5 separate regions of the Homo sapiens genome follow, and all the other regions are linked to region 1. The links are contacts of gene promoters, found by promoter capture Hi-C in human tissues and cell types (Jung and others, 2019). All regions are on one chromosome and are shown on one strand. Each heading gives the region's core, a stretch centred on a gene start or on the middle of the fragment in contact. The rest is flanking DNA. Distances are from core to core; before and after follow the strand shown.

Region 1 (2,712 bases), core at 78-2,577:
CATGGCTACCAGCTTCTAGTTCATAACGCTTTTTTTTTTTTTTTTTTGAGATGGAGTTTTTTTTTTTCCTCGCTCTGTTGCCCAGGCTGGAGTGCAGTGGTGTGATGTCGGCTCACTGCAACCTCTGCCTGCCGGGTTCAAGCGATACTCCTGCCTCAGCTTCCTGAGGAGCCGGGATTACAGGAGCGTGCCACCACACCCGGCTAATTTTGCGTTTTTAGTAGAAACGGGGTTTCATCATGTTTGTCAGGCTGGTCTCAAACTCCCGACCTCAGGTGATCCACCCGCCTCAGCCTCCCAAAGTGCTGGGATTACAGGCGTGAGCCACCGCGCCCGGCCATAACGCTTTTAAGTCTAGTATTTTTACTTCATAAACATATGGAGAAAGGCTAATGTTTTCAAATTCAAAGTGTGATGTCTTGGCTTTTGATTGGAGCGTTTAATTCATTAACATTTAATGGCATAAGGAGGGAGCATTTCCACGCTGTGCAGAGGGGACAGGTATTTTGAGACCTCAGAGTAAAATTCTTAATTGTCCCTCCCTTATCACCAGCTTCTGATCCACCCCGGAGCTCCATTTTAGGAATCATTGCCTGGCTTCCCAGCTTGGGGATATGTTTGACCTCCTGAAAGGGGGTCTGCTTGTGAACTGTGAGTGCAGTAGGCTGCTTCTCTGAGCTTGTTCAAGTTTTTGCTTTTCTTCTCTTTTGATTCTTTATGAAATATTGCTGCCATATAATTCCAGTTTTTCCACATACTCAACTATTTTATTTTGTTGTCCTGTTTTTATCTTCTGGGCTGAAAATGAGTAGATTGAGAGATAAGGTGAGGGAAAGGCTTGGCAACGTCGCCAACAGCCTCATCCCAAATTCCTGATCCCTGGAGGACATCAGGCCCTCCCTCCTGCTGCAGGGTGGCCTGTGTGCCCCGGGCTCCCCTCCTGCTCCGAGGTCCGGGAATGGCTCCACTGGACAGGGAGCCTGGAATTCCCTGCACACACTTGTGAGTCCCTGTCCAGGAGGAAAAAGCAGGAAGAACCCACTGAATACAATCAGGAAATTCTAAAATGCAAACGTCACTTCGGGAGGGGTCAGGTCACTCCGTTGGGAGGAAGCCCGCCTTGCCAAGGGTCGTGCCTGGAACCTGTTCATCCGGCTCCACTCAGCACTGTGAGATCGCTTCTTCTGTCAATCAGCCACCAAGGGGCGGGACCTGGAGCACTATCCAATCAGGGATGAGGGGGCGGGGATTGTGAGAACTGTCAATCAGGCACGCTGCAGGGAGGAGGGTGCGACGTTCAAAGAGCCCGCGGAGTCTTCTCCACGCCCCTGCGCTCTGAGTCCTGGCTCTGGCGCTGAGAGAGAGACGCCCTGGAAGGTCTGTATCAGCGTCTGTCGCGCTGGGACCCACACTGGCTTTTAAGGAGGACACCCGGACACCTGGAAGCTGGGAAATGGTGAGTGTGCGGGGCCCGGCGTCCCGAGGCAAAGAAGGGGCAGGTTGGAACCGGCCGGAACCGACCGTGAGGGGACCCGGGCCTCGCCCTGGGCGACTCCGGGGTCTGCAAATCCCAGTGCCCCTGGCGCAGCTCTGCCCTTGGTCCCCTGGGCCGCAAGATGGGGCTGGGGCGGCAGCCGGGACCCCGGGCGTCCTGTCCCGTCCCTGCTCGGCCGCTGCGGCCCCGGCCCCGGCGCCCTCTCTGGGCAGCTCCGCGCCCGCAGCTCCGCGTCTCCCCAGATTGTGCAGTTGTAACCGGCACAGGTTCACGGCCCGAGTCACTGCACCGAGACGCCGAAGGCTGCAGCAGAAACAGTTTAATGGGGGAGAGGGGAGGACACCCCAGATCCGCCTCCCTGAGAGGTTTGGGGATGGGGTGTTTAGAGGTGTGGACAGGGACGGCTGGAGTGTGGGGTCGCTGGTTGGTGGAGAAGTGAGAGGTGACTCCTGGGACTGGAGGTGAAGAAACCGCATTCTGCTGAGTGGGTTCCCTTGTGGGGTCTTCAGCCTGGTTGGCGCCAGCCTTTCCGCTGCAATTCAGGATCCGAGAAAGAACTGAGGCGACCCGTGAGCAACTCTCAAGAGATCTTATCCCCGGGCACGATGAGGAAGCCGGCGGTCAGCGTCTGCTGTGACCTGACTCTCAGGGAGGCGGCCCCGTGAGGCAGCGGGGCTGAGGGCACCTGGTTAATATCTAACTGCAATCTCGCCTCCAGCCTGGCTCGCAGTTCCTGTGAACCCGGTGAGGACGCTGCACGGTGACAACGGAGGGTCACCAGGCAGAATCCAGACTCGTGTGTGTGGGCTTTGTGCTTTGGAAGAGAAGCTGTGATCTGTGGGTTCCCCAGTCCCTTCTTTCTTCCCAAAGGTGACCGGTTTCCCTCCGAGTCTTCCAAAGATGTGGGCAGCAGGGTCTCAAATCCACCACCCTATCCCCTCATCCTAACTCCTCCTAGGGCTGGCAGCAAATCTCTTGGTTTTCAGAGCCTTCCCCAGGCTAACTGTCTCTCATCAATTCCCAGCAACTTTATGAACTCTTTGTCCCTCAGGCAATATTTCAAACAGAGGCATTATTTTAATTGTCACTTTCTTTTCACATAGCAATGTATGGCTCTTTTTAAAAGATGTGTTTTTGTGTTTGTGAACATTTCACATGTGAGGAAGCAAAGAATAACCACTTGACTCCAGTGTGAAAAAAAAAAAAAAAAAAAAAAA
Region 2 (2,712 bases), core at 111-2,610, 700 kb before region 1:
ATGGCAGACCCACAGCTAGCATGATAATGAATGGGGAAAAACTGAAAGCCCTTCCTGTAAGATCTGGAACACAATAAGAATGCCCACTTTTACCACTGTTGTTCAACACAGTACTTGAAGTCCCAGCTAGAGCAATAAGACAAAAAAAAAAAAAAGAAAAAAAAAGAAATAAAGGGCATCCATATTGGGAAGGAAGAAGTCAAATTATCCTTGTTTGCATATAATATGATCTTATATCTGGAAATACCTAAAGACTCCACCAAAAAAGTATTAGAACTGAGAAATAAATTCAGTAAAGTTGCAGTATACAATATCAACACACAAAAATCAATAACATTTTTATATGCCAACAGTGAACAATCTGAAGCTACTTGAGAGGCTGAGGTGGGAGGATTGCTTGAGCTTAGGAGGTAGAGGTTGCAGTGAGCCATGATGGCCCCACTGCACTCCAGCCTAGGTAACAGAGCAAGACCCCATCTCAAACAACCAAAAATGTGTAGAAGGATGGTTACCAGAGGCTGCGAAAAGTAGTAGCGAGGAGTAGTTATGGGGGAAGTGGGGATGGTTAATAGGTATAAAAAATAGTTACAAAGAATGAATAAGACCTAGTATTTGCTAGCACAACAGAGTGACTATAGTAAAAAATAATTTAATTGTACATTGAAAAATCTTGAAAAATTTCATTGAAAAAGAGCATAATTGGAGCCAGGCGCAGTTGCTCACGCCTCTAATCCCAGAACTTTGGGAGGCCAAGGTAGGCGGATCACGAGGTCACGAGTTTGAGACCAGCCTGGCCAACATGGTGAAACCCAGCCTCTACTGAAAAATACAAAAATTAGCCGGGTGGTGGCGCGTGCCTGTAATCCTAGCTACTCGGGAGGCTGAGGCAGGAGAATTGCTTGAACCCACCCAGGAGGCGAAGGTTGCAGTGAGCCTCGCACCATTGCACTCTAGCCTGGGCGACAGAGCAAGACTCCCTCTCGAGGAAAAAAAAAAAAAAAGATATAATTAGTTTGTCAGTCCGTGTCCAGGAGGAAGAAGCAGGAGGTCCTATTGAGTACGGGCAGGAAATTCCGCTTAAGTGCAAATATAACCCGGGAGGATTCAGATCAAAGAGCAGGGAGGAAGCCCCCCCTGCCAAGGGCTGTGTCAGGAACTTGCTCATCCGGCTCCACTCAGCTGTGCAAGATCGCTTCTTCTGTCAATCAGCCCTCAGGGGGCGGGACCTGACGCCCTATCCAATCAGGGGCGTGGGGCGGGTTCGTGGGAACTGTCAATCAGGCACTGCCCAGAGAAGTGTGTGTGGTTGAAAAAGCCCGCGGCGTCTGCTCCACCCACCTGCGCTCGGCTCTGGGTTCTGTAGCTGAGAGACGACCTGGAAGTTCTGAGGCAGCCTTTGTCTGGCTGGAACACGCATTGGCAGCGGGAGCTGTCGGTAGGACCTGGGACACCGCGGAAGTCGGGAAATGGTGCGTGTGCTGGGCCGGCGTCCCGAGGCGGGGGAGGGGTTAGGTGGAACCGGCCGTAATCGGCTGTGGCTGGACCCGGGCCTCCCCAAGGGCGACTTCGGGATCTACGGACCCGGGTCCCCCTGGCGTAGGTCGGCCCTCGGCCGCAGGGTGGGGCTGGGCATGCAGCCGGGACCCCGGGCGTCCTGTCCCGTTCCTGCGCGGCGACTGCGGCCCCGGCGCCCTCTCTGGGCAGCTCCGAGCCCGCAGCCCCGGGTCTCCCCAGATTGTGCGGCTGTAACCAACACAGGTTCGCGGCCCGACTCACTGCACCGAGACGCCGAGGGCTGCAGCAGAAACGGTTTAACAGGAGGAGAGGGGAGGACACCCCAGATCCGCCTCCCTGAGGGATTTGGGGTCTGGACGGGGGCGGCTGGGTGTAGCGTCCTTGGTTGGTGGGGAAGTGAGGGGTGAATCCTGGGACAGGAGGTGAAGAAACCGCATTCTGCTGAGAGGGCTCCCTCGTGGGGTCTTCAACCTGGTTGGCGCCAGCCTTTCTGCTGGGATTCAGGATCTGAGAACTCCGGCGACTCTTGAGCAGCACTCGGAGATCTTATCCCCAGGCACAATGGGGAAGCCGGCGGTCAGCGTCTGCTGTGACCTGACTCTCAGGGAGGCGGCCCCTTGAGGCAGCGGGGCTGAGGGCACCTGTTTAATATCTAACTGCAATCTCGCCTCCAGCCTGGCTCGCAGTTCCTGTGAACCCGGTGAGGAGGCTGCACGGTGACGACGAGTCACCAGGTGGAATCCAGACTCGTGTGTGGGGTTTGTGTGTGGGAGGAGCTGTGGTTTCCGTGGTCCTCAGTCCTTTCTTCCTTTCCAAGGGCGACCGTTTCCCCTCTGAGTCTTCCAAAGACGTGGGCAGCAGGGTCTCAAATCCACCACTGTGTTCTCTCATCCTGACTCTTCCTAGGGCTGGCAGCAAATCTCTTGGTTTCCAGAGACTTCCCCAGGCTAACCTTCTGTCCTTAATTCACAGCAACAGTATGAACTGTTTGGCCCCAGGCGATATTTCACTAGTTTGTCATCTTGTTTTCAGCTAGCAATGTATGGCTTTTTCTTGAAAGAATTGTTTTGGGTTCCTGAACACGGTGGGTCATTCCTGTAATTCCAGCACCTTGGGAGGCTAAGGCAGAGGTATTGCTTGATCCCAGTAGTTCCAGACCAGCCTGGGCAACATGGCAAGACTTTGTCTCTAGTGTAA
Region 3 (2,712 bases), core at 67-2,566, 660 kb before region 1:
AAAAGCCATATATGGCAGACCCACAGCTAGCATGATAATGAATGAGGAAAAACTGAAAGCCTTTCCTGTAAGATCTGGAACACAATAAGAATGCCCACTTTTACCACTGTTGTTCAGCACAGTACTCGAAGTCCCAGCTAGAGCAATAAGTCCAAAAAAAAAAAAAAAAAGAAATAAAGGGCATCTATATTGGGAAGGAAAGGAAGAAGTCAAATTATCCTGGTTTGCATATAATATGATCTTATATCTGGAAATACCTAAAGACTCCACCAAAAAAGTATTAGAACTGAGAAATAAATTCAGTAAAGTTGCAGGATACAATATTAACATACAAAAATCAGTAACATTTTTATATGCCAACAGTGAACAATCTGAAGCTACTTGAGAGGCTGAGGTGGGAGGATTGCTTGAGCTTGGGAGGTAGAGGTTGCAGTGAGCCATGATGGCCCCACTGCACTCCAGCCTAGGCAACAGAGCAAGACCCCATCTCAAACAACCAAAAACGTGTAGAAGGATGGTTACCACAGGCTGGGAAAAGTAGTAGCGAGGAGTAGTTATGGGGGAAGTGGGGATGGTTAATAGGTATAAAAAATAGTTACAAAGAATGAATAAGACCTAGTATTTGCTAGCACAACAGAGTGACTATAGTAAAAAATAATTTAATTGTACATTGAAATATTTTGAAAAATTTCATTGAAAAAGAGTATAATTGGAGCCAGGCGCGATGGCTCACGTCTCTAATCCCAGAACTTTGGGAGGCCAAGGTGGGCGGATCACGAGGTCAGGAGTTCGAGACCAGCCTGGCCAACATGGTGAAACCCGGCCTCTACTAAAACATACAAAAATTAGCCGGGTGTGGTGGCGCGCACCTGTAATCCCAGCTACTCGGGAGGCTGAGGCAGAATTGTTTGAACCCACCTAGGAGGCGGAGGTCGCAGTGAGCCTCGCACCATTGCACTCTAGCCTGAGCCACGGAGCAAGACTCCCTCTCTCTCTCTCTCTCTCTCTCTCTCTCTCGGAAAAAAAAAAAAAAAAAAAAAAAAAAGTATAATTGTTTTGTCAGTCAGTGTACAGGAGGAAGAAGCAGGAGGTCCTATTGAGTACAGGCAGGAAATTCCGCTTAAGTGCAAATATCCCTCGGGAGGATTCAGATCAAAGAGCAGGGAGGAAGCCCGCCCTGCCAAGGGCTGTGTCAGGAACTTGCTCATCTGGCTCCACTCAGCTGTGCAAGATCGCTTCTTCTGTCAATCAGTCCACGAGGGGCGGCACCTGACGCCGTATCCAGTAAGGGCCGTGGGGCGGGTTCGTGGGAACTGTCAATCAGGCGCGCTTCCCAGAGGAGTGTGTGGTTGAAAAAGCCCGCGGCGTCTTCTCCACCCACCTGCGCTGGGCGCTCGGTGCTCGGCTCTGTAGCTAAGAGACGACCTGGAAGTTCCGTGGCAGCCTGTGTCCCGCGGGAACCCGCATTGGCAGCGGGAGCCGTCCGGAGGACCTGGGACACCGCGGAAGTCGGGAAATGGTGCGTGTGCTGGGCCGGCGTCCCGAGGCGGGGGAGGGGCTGGGTGGAACCTGCAGTAATCGGCTGTGGCTGGACCCGGGCCTCCCCAAGGGCTACTCCGGGATCTACGGACCCGGGTTCCCCTGGCGTAGGTCGGCCCTCGGCCGCAGGGTGGGGCTGGGCATGCAGCCGGGACCCCGGGCGTCCTGTCCCGTTCCTGCGCGGCGACTGCGGCCCCGGCGCCCTCTCTGGGCAGCTCCGCGCCCGCAGCCTCGCGTCTCCCGAGATTGTGCGGCTGTAAGCAACACAGGTTCGCGGCCCGACTCACTGCACCGAGACGCTGAGGGCTGCAGCAGAAACAGTTTAATAGCCAGAGAGGGGAGGACACCCCAGATCCGCCTCCCTGAGGGATTTGGGGTCTGGACGGGGGCGGCTGGGTGTAGGGTCGTTGGTTGGTGGGGAAGTGAGGGGTGAATCCTGGGACAGGAGGTGAAGAAACCGCATTCTGCTGAATGGGCTCCCTCGTTGGGACTTCAACCTGATTGGCGCCAGCCTTTGCTGGGATTCAGGATCTGAGAACTCCGGCGACTCTTGAGCAGTTCTCAGAGATCTTATCCCCAGGCACAATGGGGAAGCCGGCGGTCAGCGTCTGCTGTGACCTGACTCTCAGGGAGGCGGCCCCTTGAGGCAGCGGGGCTGAGGGCACCTGGTTAATATCTAACTGCAATCTCGCCTCCAGCCTGGCTCGCAGTTCCTGTGAACCCGGTGAGGAGGCTGCACGGTGACGACGAGTCACCAGGTGGAATCCAGACTCGTGTGTGGGGTTTGTGTGTGGGAGGAGCTGTGGTCTCCGTGGTCCTCAGTCCCTTCTTTCTTTCCAAGGGCGACCGTTTCCCCTCTGAGTCTTCCAAAGATGTGGTTAGCAGGGTCTCAAATCCACCACTGTGTTCTCTCATCCTGACTCCTCCTAGGGCTGGCAGCAAATCTCTTGGTTTCCAGAGACTTCCCCAGGCTAACCTTCTGTCCTTAATTCACAGCAACGGTATGAACTGTTTGGCCCCCAGGCGATATTTCACTAGTTTGTCATCTTGTTTTCAGCTAGCAATGTATGGCTTTTTCTTGAAAGAATTATTTTGGGTTCCTGAACACGGTGGGTCATTCCTGTAATTCCAGCACCTTGGGAGGCTAAGGCAGAGGTATTGCTTAATCTTAGT
Region 4 (2,712 bases), core at 90-2,589, 630 kb before region 1:
AACCCCTGAAGCTTCTAAGGAAATATATGACCAAATAAGAGAGCATGGTGTGTGCTTAATAAGTATTTAGGTAAATAAATGTGCACAGGCCAGGCGTGGTGGCTCACGCCTGTAATCCTAACACTTTGGGAGGCCGAGGCCGGCGGATTGCCTGAGCTCAGGAGTTCACGACCAGCCTGGGCAACATGGTGAAACCCTGTCTCTACTAAAATACAAAAAAATTAGCTGGGCATGGCAGCGTGCACCTGTAGTCCAGTGTGCTACTCGGGAGGCTGAGGCAGGAGAATTGCTTCAACTTGGGAGGCGGAGGTTGCAGTGAGCCAAGATTGAGCCACTACAGTCTGTCCTGGGTGACAGAGTGAGACTCCGTCTCCAAAAAAATAAAATAAAAATAAATGTGCATAAGGCATGGCAGTGTAGTATGGGAAAGGAAAGGGAGTGGAAGTTCACAGCACATTCTGAGGCTGTATTTTAAGATGAGAGGTAACATCTATGCAGTTTATCTCGAAGTTATTATCTTGAGATCAGGAGGGGAAAGAGGAAAAGGGAAAGAAGAAGAAAAAAAAGGTTTAAAACGTGGTTTGAGACTCAGCTGCTAAGCTGCTGGTTACACACTCTGGGACTCAACTTCAGGAGTCAGAATCTGCCTTCTAAGCTTGAAAATATGTTTAACCTCCTGAAAGGGGGTTTCCTGCTGAACTGTGGCTGAAATTTCTCTGAACTAATTCAGGTTTTTTCTTTTCCCTTCTTTTGATTCCTTTATAGAAGATTACTGCCATATAATTCCAGATTTTCCATGCATTTAACAATTTTATTTCATTGTTGATGTGTTTTTATTTTCTGGTCTGAGAATGAGTAGATTGGGAGATAAGGTGGGAGAAAGGCTTGACCATGGAGCCAGCAGTCTCATCCTAAATTCCTGATCCCTGGAGGACACCAGGCCTTCCCTCCTGCTTCAGTGTGGTTTGTGTGGCCTGGGCCTCCCCTACCGCTCTGAGGCCAGGGGATGGCTCCACTGGGCAGTGAGTCTCGAATTCCCAGCACACACTTGTGGGTCCCCGTCCAGGAAGAAGGAGCAGGAAGAGCCCATTGAGTACAGGCAGGAAATTCCGCTTAAATGCAAATGTCCCCTGGGAGGGGTCAGGTCACAGCGAAGGGAGGAAGCCCACCCTATCAAGGGCTGTGTCTGGAACCGCTTCATCTCGCTCCACTCAGCCGTGTAAGATCCTTCTTCTGTCAATCAGTTCCCTGGGGGGGCGGAATTTGGAGCTCTACCCAATCAGTGTTGGGGGCGAGTTCTTGGGAACTGCCAGTCAGGCGCGCTGCCGGGAGGAGGGTGGAGCTTTCTACACCCCTCTGAGCTCCCGCTCCTGGCTCTGTAGCTGAGAGAAGCCCTGGCAGGTCAGTGGCAGGCACTGTCACGCTGAGTCCTATGCTGGCAGCGGGGAACCTTGGGGAGAACACGGGACACCGCGGAAGCCGGGAAATGGTGAGTGTGCGGGGCCCGGCGTCCTGGGGCAGGGCGAAGGACTGGTTGGAACCGGCCAGAACCGGCTGTGGCGGGACCCGGGCGTCCCCGCGGCGACTGCGGGGTCTGTGGACCCGAGTTCCCCTGGCCCAGCCGGCCTTCAGTCCCCTCGGCCGCGGGGTGGGAGCTGGGGGCTGGGCCGGCAGCCGGGACCCCGGGCGTCCTGTCCCGTTTCTGCGCAGCAACTGCGGCCCCGGCTCCCGCGCCCTCTCTGGGGCAGCTCCATGCCCACAGCTCCGCGTCTTCCCAGATTGTGCGGCTGTAACCGGCACAGGTTCGCGGTCCGAGTCACTGCACCGAGACTCCAAGGCCTGCAGCAGAAACAGTTTAATAGGGGGAGAGGAGAGAAGACCCCAGTTCCGCCTCCATGAGAGGTTTGGGGATGGGGGTGTTTAGGGGTCTGGACAGGGGCGGCTGAAGTGTGGGGTCGCTGGTTGGTGGGGAAGTGACAGGCGAATCCTGGGACGGGAGGTGAAGAAACCGCATTCTCCTGCTGAGTGGGTTCCCTCGTGGGGTTTTCACCCTGCTTGGCGCCAGCCTTTCCGTTGGAATTCAAGATCTGAGAAAGAACTTGGGCAACTCGAGCAGCTCTCCGAGATCTTATCCCCAGGCACAATGCAGAAGCCGGCGGTCAGTGTCTTCTGTGACCTGACTCTCAGGAAGGCGGCCCCCGCGAGGCAGTGGGGCTCAGGGTACCTGGTTAATATCTAACTGCAATCAGAATCCAGATTCTTGCGTGGGGTTTGTGCACGGGAGGAGCTGTGGTCTGCGGGGTCCCCAGTCCCTTCTTTTCTTCCCAGGGTGACTGATTCCTCTTCGAGTTTTTCAGAGATGGGGGTAGCAGGGTCTCAAATCCACTACCCTGTTCCCTCATTCTAACTCCTCCTAGGGGTGGTAGTAACTCCCTTGGTTTCCAGAGCCTTACGCAGGCTAACTTTCCCTCCTCAGTTCACAGCAACATCATGAACTCCTCCCTCCTCCGCCCCACCCGTGCTAAATTTCAGAGTCCCAGTATTTTAATTTTCATTTTGTTTTCAGAGAGCAATGGATGGCTTCTTTTTTTCTTTCTTTCTTTTTTTTTTTTTTGAGATGGAGTTGTGCTCTTGTTGCCCAGGCTGGAGTGCAATGGTGCGATGTCGGCTCACCGCAACCTCCGCCTCCCGGGTTCAAGAAATTCTCCTGTC
Region 5 (2,712 bases), core at 61-2,560, 550 kb before region 1:
GGATCACGAGGTCAGGAGATCAAGACCATCCTGGCTAATGCGGTGAAACCCCATCTCTACTAAAAATACAAAAAATTAGCCAGGCGTGGTGGCACATGCCTGTAGTCCCAGCTACTCGGGAGGCTGAGGCAGGAGAATCCCTTGAACCCAGGAGGCGGAGGCTGCAGTGGGTGACAGAGCGAGATTCCGTCTCAAGGAAAAAAAAAGAAGAATGTGTATATATGTGGACAGTGAAGACTCATGGGGATGAGGGAGGTTATTTGGTGGATAATGGGGGTTGCTCCAGGGATGGATGCACTGAAAGGCCTGACTTTACAAGGCAATATATCAATGTAGTAAAATTGCACTGGTACTCCATGAATATATATATATAATTTATACATATATGTGTATATATATATATATTATACGTGTGTGTGTGTGTGTATATATATATATAAAAGGAATGCACATTTTAGGGTATTACCCAAGGCTACTGAATTAGTAATTCTTGGAATGGGGCCCAATGATTTTTTTTTTATTTTTTATTTTTGAGACAGAGTCTTACTCTATTGCCCAGGCTGGAGTGCAGTGGTGCAATCTTGGCTCACTGCAACCTCTGCCTCAGCCTCCCGAGTAGCTGGGACTACAGGTGTGCACCACCACGCCTGGCTAATTTTTGTATTTTTAGTAGAGATGGAGTTTCACCATGTTGGCCAGGCTGGTCTCGAACTCCTGACCTCAAGAGATCCACCTGCCTCAGCCTCCCAAAGTGCTGGGATTACAGATGTGAGCCACTGCAACCAGCCCCAATGATCTGTTTTCTTTCTTTCTTTTTTTTGAGACCAAGTCTCGCTCTTTCACCCAGGCTGGAGTGCAGTAGCACAATCTCAGCTCACTGCAACCTACCTCTGCCTCCCAGGTTCAAGCAATTTTCTGCCTCAGCCTCCCGAGCAGCTAGGACTACAGGCACCCGCCACCACGCCCGGCTAATTTTTGTATTTTTAGTAGAGACGGGGTTTCATCATCTTGGCCATGCTGGTCTCGAACTCCTGACTTTGTGATCCACCCACCTCGGTCTCCCAAAGTGCTGGGATTACAGGCATGAGCCACCGCGCCCGGCCTCCAATGGCCTGTTTTTTAACAAGCCCTTCAGATGATTCTCATGCATGAGAACTAGTTCATCAGAGCAACCTGTTAAAATATAATGCAAAAAGATATCACTAAAATGTAAATATAATTAGTAACTAAATTGGAACACTAGAGAATATTGATTTGATTCAGAGACATCAAGAAAGGATGAACGGGGGAAAAACACAAAAATTGTGCTGAAAAGATTTTTGTTTTCTTTATTTGCCTCAATCTGTTTGACACATGCTAAAATCTGAGGCTATGGGTCATGCAGTTTACTCACACATTGCAGTGCTCATAGGACTTGACTTTTTTTTGAGTTTTTTTTGAGATGGAGTCTCGCTCTGTCACCCAGGCTAGAGTGCAGTGGCGTGATCTCGGCTCACTGCAAGCTCTGACCCCCGGGTTCACGCCATTCTCCTGCCTCAGCCTCCTGAGTAGCTGGGACTACAGGCGCCCGCCACCACGCCTGGCTAATTTTTTTGTATTTTTAGTAGAGATGGGGTTTCATTGTGTTCTCCAGGATGGTCTCGATCTCCTGACCTCGTGATCCGCCAGCCTCGGCCTCCCAAAGTGTTAGGATTACAGGCGTGAGCCACCGCGCCTGGCCAGGACTTGACTTTTAAGTTAATTTTTTGATGTTGTTGACAATGTTATTTTTGGTTTTGTCTCTACATGCTAACAGTTCATGAATTTTTCAACACATGGGGGAACATTGCTGGGTTATAGATTATAGACAAACTTCAGTTTACTAGGAAATCATAATAGCATGTGTGGATTAACTGTCTGACCAGGCCGGGTGCTGTGGCTCACGCCTGTTGTCCCAGCACTTTGGGAAGCCTTGGTGGGTGGATCACCTGAGGTCAGGAGTTTGAGATTAGCCTGGCCAACATGGTGAAACACCATTTCTACTAAAAGCACAAAATATCCGGACGTGGTGGCGGGCGCCTGTAATCCCAGCTACTCGGGAGGCTGAGCCAGGAGAATTGCTTGGACCCGGGAGGTGGAGGTTGCAGTGAGCCGAGATCGCGTCTTTGCACTCCAGCCTGGGCAACAAGAGTGAAAATCTGTCTCAAAAAACAAACAAACAAACAATGCATACATGTCTGTTTATACATTTTTTTCAGGCTTAATTTACTTTATTTTTCTTGTATGAAAGCCCTATGTTGTAGCCACAGCTGGAGCCTGGGTCCTCTGCACAGAGACTCTGGTGTGGGTCTTAACGAGGTGGTCAGTGAATTCCTGATAGGGAGACTTGGTGAATACAGTCTCCTTCCAGAGGTCAGGGGTTAGGTAGCTGTAGGTCTTAGAGATGACATCAAAGGTGGCCTTGGCGAAGTTGCCCAGGATGGCAGTGCAGCCCCGGGCTGAGGTGTATCAGTCACTGATACCAGCCATCATGAGCAGCTTCTTGGGCACAGGCGCTGAGACGATGCCAGTGTCCCTGGGTGCGGGGATGAGGCGCACCAGCACAGAGCCGCAGTGGCCTGTCACCTTGCAAGGGACGGTGTGGGGCTTGCCGATCTTGTTCCCCCAGTAGCCTCTGCGCACGAGGACAGTGGAGAGCTTGGCCAGGATGATGGCCCCGCGGATGGCAGTGGC

What was found. The method cuts DNA at HindIII sites, captures the fragments that hold promoters and counts their contacts. A contact is called where the count stands out against the background at its distance.
Region 2: the fragment with the promoter of ZNF443 here is called in contact with the fragment with the promoter of ZNF823 in region 1 in 5 of the 25 tissues and cell types used here (IMR-90 fibroblasts, adrenal gland, aorta and 2 more).
Region 3: the fragment with the promoter of ZNF799 here is called in contact with the fragment with the promoter of ZNF823 in region 1 in 2 of the 25 tissues and cell types used here (liver and lymphoblastoid cells).
Region 4: the fragment with the promoter of ZNF442 here is called in contact with the fragment with the promoter of ZNF823 in region 1 in 7 of the 25 tissues and cell types used here (IMR-90 fibroblasts, aorta, lymphoblastoid cells and 4 more).
Region 5: a fragment that was not itself captured here is called in contact with the fragment with the promoter of ZNF823 in region 1 in 1 of the 25 tissues and cell types used here (dorsolateral prefrontal cortex).

Annotation. Positions count from the first base shown.
Region 1 is chr19:11,737,561-11,740,272 of GRCh38, reverse strand. It overlaps ZNF823 (zinc finger protein 823), which reads left to right and starts at 1,327. Exons shown (of 4, transcript NM_001080493.4): 1 at 1,327-1,456. The coding sequence starts at 1,454. RefSeq lists silencers at 1,149-1,343, 1,604-1,753 and enhancers at 1,354-1,433, 1,824-1,953. The HindIII fragment of the contact is 18,648 bases long and covers 1-2,712 here.
Region 2 is chr19:12,439,669-12,442,380 of GRCh38, reverse strand. ZNF443 (zinc finger protein 443) reads left to right here and starts at 1,360. Exons shown (of 4, transcript NM_005815.5): 1 at 1,360-1,469. The coding sequence starts at 1,467. RefSeq lists an enhancer at 912-1,181 and a silencer at 1,592-1,681. The HindIII fragment of the contact is 16,773 bases long and covers 1-2,712 here.
Region 3 is chr19:12,399,875-12,402,586 of GRCh38, reverse strand. It overlaps ZNF799 (zinc finger protein 799), which reads left to right and starts at 1,316. Exons shown (of 4, transcript NM_001080821.3): 1 at 1,316-1,519. The coding sequence starts at 1,517. RefSeq lists enhancers at 1,162-1,211, 1,932-2,021 and a silencer at 1,542-1,701. The HindIII fragment of the contact is 18,323 bases long and covers 1-2,712 here.
Region 4 is chr19:12,364,310-12,367,021 of GRCh38, reverse strand. It overlaps ZNF442 (zinc finger protein 442), which reads left to right and starts at 1,339. Exons shown (of 6, transcript NM_030824.3): 1 at 1,339-1,489; 2 at 1,779-2,220. RefSeq lists an enhancer at 1,426-1,525 and a silencer at 1,626-1,805. The HindIII fragment of the contact is 16,775 bases long and covers 334-2,712 here.
Region 5 is chr19:12,284,745-12,287,456 of GRCh38, reverse strand. The region is part of intron 1 of ZNF44 (zinc finger protein 44); the gene reads left to right. It also overlaps the pseudogene RPS2P53. Among named protein-coding and RNA genes, the nearest start is that of ZNF44, 8.8 kb to the left of the region's middle. The HindIII fragment of the contact is 8,559 bases long and covers 1-2,712 here.